Regions from separate parts of the Homo sapiens genome. Here region 2 is linked to region 1. Evidence: promoter capture Hi-C in 16 types of primary human blood cells and fetal thymus (Javierre and others, 2016). All regions are on one chromosome and are shown on one strand. Each heading gives the region's core, a stretch centred on a gene start or on the middle of the fragment in contact. The rest is flanking DNA. Distances are from core to core; before and after follow the strand shown.

Region 1 (2,758 bases), core at 180-2,679:
ACCGGGAGGCGGGCGCTATTACGGGCCCCAGTTTGCAGTCGAAGAAACTGGCTCAGAACGTGAAGGGTCCATGGTCACTGAGAGTGGGCGGCGGCGCCAGGAGTCCGCCCTGGATCTGCCCGACTCCTTCCACTGTGCCAGTTTGCCCTTGCGCGGTCGCGGTGGGGAATAGATGGAGACGTGGACAGCTCAAATAAATCACAGATGGAATGTAAGGTTGTGCCTAGCAGGCTGCCGGCCCTCAGTGAGCGGTGGCTCGGGTTGTTGTTCTTACGTGAACGACAGGCAGAGACAGCGCCTCCTCCTCTCCCCATGGTGCGGGAAAACCCGACGGGAAAGTGGGGGAGGCGCAGAGAAAGGAGGTGTAGGGAGGTGAAGCGGGTACTATCTTCCCACTCGGAGCGCCCCTTCGGCAGCACAGCTGCCCGGTCCTCCCTCTGCTAAGCCCTGACTGCTGCAGGGGAGCAGGAGGAGCCGGCACCTCCCAGAAAGCAGACCCTCTCTCTGGATCCCGTTTGCCTGCAATTCAATGCCCCTGGGTGGGTGTGAGGTTTCAGGGAGGTCACAAGTCATATCAAGATGAGGCGAGCTCACAGCTGGAGAGTCTCCATCCTGCTGCCCATCTCTGAACAGATCAGAGATCTTAAAAGGCGGCCCTTTTAAGAGGCCAGCTCGGACCCAGGCAGGGGTCCCGGTGCCCACGACCTCCCCAGGCCGCGAAGTGCCAGGCTGGCGCCCCGCAGGCGAGCTCGAAACCACACCCAGCACCCGACCGGGCCCAGTCTCTGCCCTACCCGCGCGCCCGCAGCCCCCGGCGGCCCTCGGAAGGGAGACGTGGGTAGGCGGGCAGGGCCGAGAGGCCGCCTCGGGGCGACAGCGGCGTCTGGTTGGAGCCGGCGCCCCCTGGGAGGCGGCGGGGGCGGAGGCTGCGCAGCGGGTGAATGAGCACCATTGTATGCCCCGCCACCTGGGCTCCCCGGGCTGCCAGGACCGGGCGCCAGCTCCTGCCCCACGCTGCCTGTCCCGGGCCGGGCCGCGCGTCTGGGGACGGGTCCCGTTTGACTCTCCGGCTCAGCCACCTCCATTCACGGTGCCGCGATGGGCACCATGTATGCACCCACCGAGGGGACCTGCCCGCGGCGCTGTCCTCAGGTGGCCTCTCGGGCTAGGGGTGTCAGTAGGCGCGGGACACAGGCAGAGCTCCTCCATCCCGGACTCCAGACCCCGCACCCTGGACCCTGGCAGCGGAGGGGCTGCGAAACTTACAATCTGCGCCAGAGCGAGCACTACCACCTGGAGGAGAACAAGGAGGCTGCGGGGGGAGGCCGTAGCGGCGGCCATGGCTGGCGGCGAGACCAAGGGGGACGGGTGCGTGTCCGCGCACGCACCGACGGCAGAGTCTCCCGGCGCTCCTCCAGCGCTGGCTGTTCGCGGGCAGGGTGGGCTGGGGCTCCTGAATATGCGGGGGGCGGGGCGGGGGCCGGCGTGAGCTGTCACCTGAGAGGACCGGCGGGGTTGCCGGGAGGGAGGCCGGCGCCAGGCATCCAGCTCCGCCCCGCTCGGTCCAGCCTCCTGCGCCCACCCTCTGTCCTCGAGGGGCGACCGGGGTGCGGGTCGGAGATGATGGTCCAGTTTCTTTGTGAGAAGGCATAAGGCCGTCTGAGGTTCCCCTCGGGACCTTCAGGCCCCAGCACCTTCCCCCTGACGCACAGCCTGTGCCCCATCACTTACCCTACGTCCTCTCCAGGGCCCAGGCCGAGAGCACCTCGGGCTCTGCAGATCTTGCTGCAGGCTCTCCCCAGCTCCCGCCCACCTTGCTCCCCTCTCCTCTGGCTCCTTCCTCTCCAAGCACAAACAAACAGGCCTTTTCCATATTAATATGCCACAGTCCTTCCTGGATCAGCCGTCTCATGAATACTCCATCGGCCTCTTCCAGCTCTTTAGTGGAGCTGTGTGCACCTCCCCCACCCCCGAACTTCCTCACCTCGCTTTCACCTCCCTACTCTGTCCCAACAAGCAAATCTGTCTCCTGGAGGTCTGCAGTGAAGCCCAACCCTTCTTCGGTCCTCCAGGCAGGAAGCTGTTGGCATCTTCACCTGCCCTTGAAGTCTTCCCCATCCAAGCTCCTGCCATCCAGCTCCCCTTTTTCTATTGCCTTTAATTCTCTGCAGCTGCCTTAAGCACTGGTGTGTTTAGGATTGGGCCTTCTCACTCCATGTTCATAGAAACAACTACCACTTTATTCACCAGAGTTTCCGAACCCCGCTGTCCAGCATAGCCCGACTCCAGAGAGCCTTCCCTTCCCTCCCACTCACTTAGGCAATATTGGTAAAATGCTTTGGAATCTGACTTTTTCACAATTATAGATATGACCACAGGCACCCCAAACTCTATGAAGTCTCATTTTCCTCATCTGTAAAATGGGGATACTAATAGTCCATATATATATATATATATATTTTTTTTTTAAGACAGAGTCTTAAAAGGCTCTGGAGTGCAGTGGCACGATGTCAGCTAACTGCAACCTCGCCTCGCGGGTTCAAATGATTCCCCTGCCTCAGCCTCTCGAGTAGCTGGAATTACAGGCATGAGCCACAATGCCTGGCTAATTTTTATATTTTTAGTAGAGATGGGGTTTCGCCATGTTGGCCAGACTGCTCTTGAACTCCTGACTTCAGGTGATCTGCCTGCCTCAGCCTCCCAAAGTGTTGGGATTACAGGCATGAGCCACCGTGCCCAGCAAATTGTCCTTATCTTA
Region 2 (2,758 bases), core at 74-2,573, 110 kb before region 1:
AATCCCAACACTTTGGGAGGCCGAGGCGGGCAGATCATGAGATCAGGAGTTCAAGACCAGCCTGGCTAACATGGTGAAACCTTGTCTCTACTAAAGATACAAAAAATTAGTCAGGTGTGGTGGTGTGCGCCTGTAATCCCATCTACTCAGGAGGCTGAGGCAAGAGAATCACTTGAACCCAGGAGGCAGAGGTTGCAGTAAGCCAGGATCGTGCCATTTGCACTCGAGCTGGGGCGACAGGGCGAGACTCCGTCTTAAAAAAAAAAAAAAAAGGCGATCATAAGAGACCAACTATAAACCTGTATGCTAATTTATTTATTTGCAGTATCAGGTAGTGTAAGGAGATAGATTGCTTACCTCTAATAGCAGCTGCAGTATTTTATGTTTGGGAAAGTTAATCAGACTGAGATGTAGTAATGGTTATTCTCAGCACCTGACACATGCCAAAACAATTCAAAAGCAGCAGCAAAACACTACATTTTGGGTTTGATTCCTCATCCTGTAATAATAACAACTTTACTCTCTCAGCCTTTGCTTAATTAAAACCCGTTTTGTTTCTAATGTTGTATTAGGCATTGGCAAATACAGCAAACTGTATGGCCCAGTTTGTTTGCCAAAAATAGTTACAGAAAGAGAAGTACTAAGCTCAATGATTACTGCCCTAAATTCAGTAGAAGTGTAAAGATAGAGAATTCTGTGTTTATAGAAAAATTGATCCTTGAATTGGAGCTTTAAGTAATGGTGGGGTTTGGATGGGTGGAAAGAATGGTTTGGAGATGACTGAATGGTAGTAAAGCACAGGTACTAATGAGTACTTTGCAGGGATCCACTGGAGAATAAATACCCTGCTTAGGGCAGAGTGGTTATTGAAGTCTTGTGAGAAATAAGACCTGTTGGGGTTGGAAAAGAAGGGCTTGGAAACTCCATTGCATTAATGGTTAGATTTGATGCAGTAGAAATTAAGAAGGCTTTGCAGTTAGGAAGTGACATGTCTGAAGTGGTGTTTTAGGAAGACTAGACAGAAAGAATATGTATTATGTTTAGGACAAGAGATTGTAGCCAGCAAGAGGACAAAGGACAGGACTTGCTGACCGGGCAAAAACAGAGGAGGATGTACAGAGATACCTTCAAGAGGCTCATAAGGCTTCTAGCTTGGGAGACTGGAAGAATAGTGGTGCTCTGCTGCTAATTAGAAGAAAGAATGGGTGGAGGGACAAGGGAGAGTCTGGGAAGATGATAAGCTTTGTTTTATACATGATCTTTCCTGGTTTATTAATAACAATGTTTGGAAACAGGATTTTTCCTGATTGTGTTGAGTTTGCAGGGAACTGTGTTATAGGAAATACGATTTGATACTATTCACAACAGGGGGTTGGCACCCACCCAGCTACCTGTTTTTATAAATAAAGCTTTACTGGCACAAAGTCTTACATTCATTTCTTGTCTGTGGCTGCTTTTGTGCTACAGTGGCAGAGGTGAGTAGTTGTAACAGAAACTCTCTGGCCAGAAAAGCTAAAAATATTTTCTGTCTGTCCTTGTACGAAAAATATTTGCTAACCTCTGCTCTACAAGAATTAAATTTTCCAGTCTATTTCAGTGGTTTAATATCGGTTGGTCTAACCCTCCGTGTTCTACACGTGATGAAACTGAAGCCAAGCTGATAATGTTTCCAAGGCCCTTCCTGCATTAAGCTAATTAGAAAGGCCAAGCCCAGCTGGAATGCAGGTCACCTGGCTCCTTGGTCAGCCTTCTTTCCACTCTACCACCTATTTCCATGTGTTAGACATTGATAAGCCATGGTCTGATTGGGAACATCTTGGTGATATATCATTCTGTTCATATTTATACATATAGGTGTGATTTAAAACATTTTTATCATGATGTGGATTAATTTGTTAAATATACCAATGCAAAACATTTAGTACACATAAAGTTATCTTAAAATTATTTTAAAGGAACCCTAGTATCATCGTATCATCATAACTAGTCAGTCTTTTTTTTTCCTTTCTTTTTCTTTGAGATGGTGTTTCACTCTTGTTGCCCAAGCTGGAGTGCAATGGCGTGATATCGGCTCACTGCAACCTCTGCCTCTCGGGTTCAAGTGATTCTCCTGCTTCAGCCTCCCGAGTAGCTGGGATTACGGGCACGTGCCACCACGCCTGGCTAATTTTTGTATTTTTAGTAGAAACGGGGTTTCACCGTTTCTACTGGTGACCAGCTGGTCTCAAACTCCTGACCTCCTGTTATCCGCCCGCCTCGGCCTCCCAAAGTGCTGGGATTACAAGGCATGAGCCATCACGCCCAGCCACTAGTCAGTCTCTTATCCTAGTGATACTTTTCTTTTGCAAGTGTCAACAGAATTAAAAATAATCTGTAGTTTGCTTTGGAAAATTACTAGTGAGTCACCAGATGTTGATTAATTAGAGTTTAAATTCAGCATACGTTCTAAAGTAGCAGAGTTACACACATATTTGCCATCTACTTCACCTGAGTTCAGGAGAAGAGTTAACTTGAGCAACAGCTGGGAATAAAAGTACATTGTATGTTGGTACCTGGGGGTATCCCAATAATAGGCATATGTAATGGGAAACCGCTGCTGGGGAAGATTTAGCCAGACACATACAATTAAGATTAATTGACTGGGTCATCTGAAAGTCAAAATTCAGAACCTAGTGGGTAAAGAGTGAGTCCTTTCAGATATCTGGTAGGTCTGGAAGGCAGAAGAATTTCATGGAATCCTGGAGTTTTAGGTTGTGAT

Evidence for each region. Contacts are between HindIII fragments. The CHiCAGO score rates a contact against its expected background, and 5 or more counts as called.
Region 2: a fragment that was not itself captured here is called in contact with the fragment with the promoter of COL9A2 in region 1 in 1 of 17 cell types (naive B cells); the score reaches 5.4 in naive B cells.

What each region holds. Positions count from the first base shown.
Region 1 is chr1:40,315,857-40,318,614 of GRCh38, forward strand. COL9A2 (collagen type IX alpha 2 chain) reads right to left here and starts at 1,430. Exons shown (of 32, transcript NM_001852.4): 1 at 1,267-1,430. The coding sequence starts at 1,341. RefSeq lists enhancers at 288-924, 925-1,561 and a silencer at 605-1,114. The HindIII fragment of the contact is 22,313 bases long and covers 1-2,758 here.
Region 2 is chr1:40,209,622-40,212,379 of GRCh38, forward strand. All of the region lies in intron 5 of RLF (RLF zinc finger), which reads left to right. Among named protein-coding and RNA genes, the nearest start is that of TMCO2, 37 kb to the right of the region's middle. The HindIII fragment of the contact is 168 bases long and covers 1,240-1,407 here.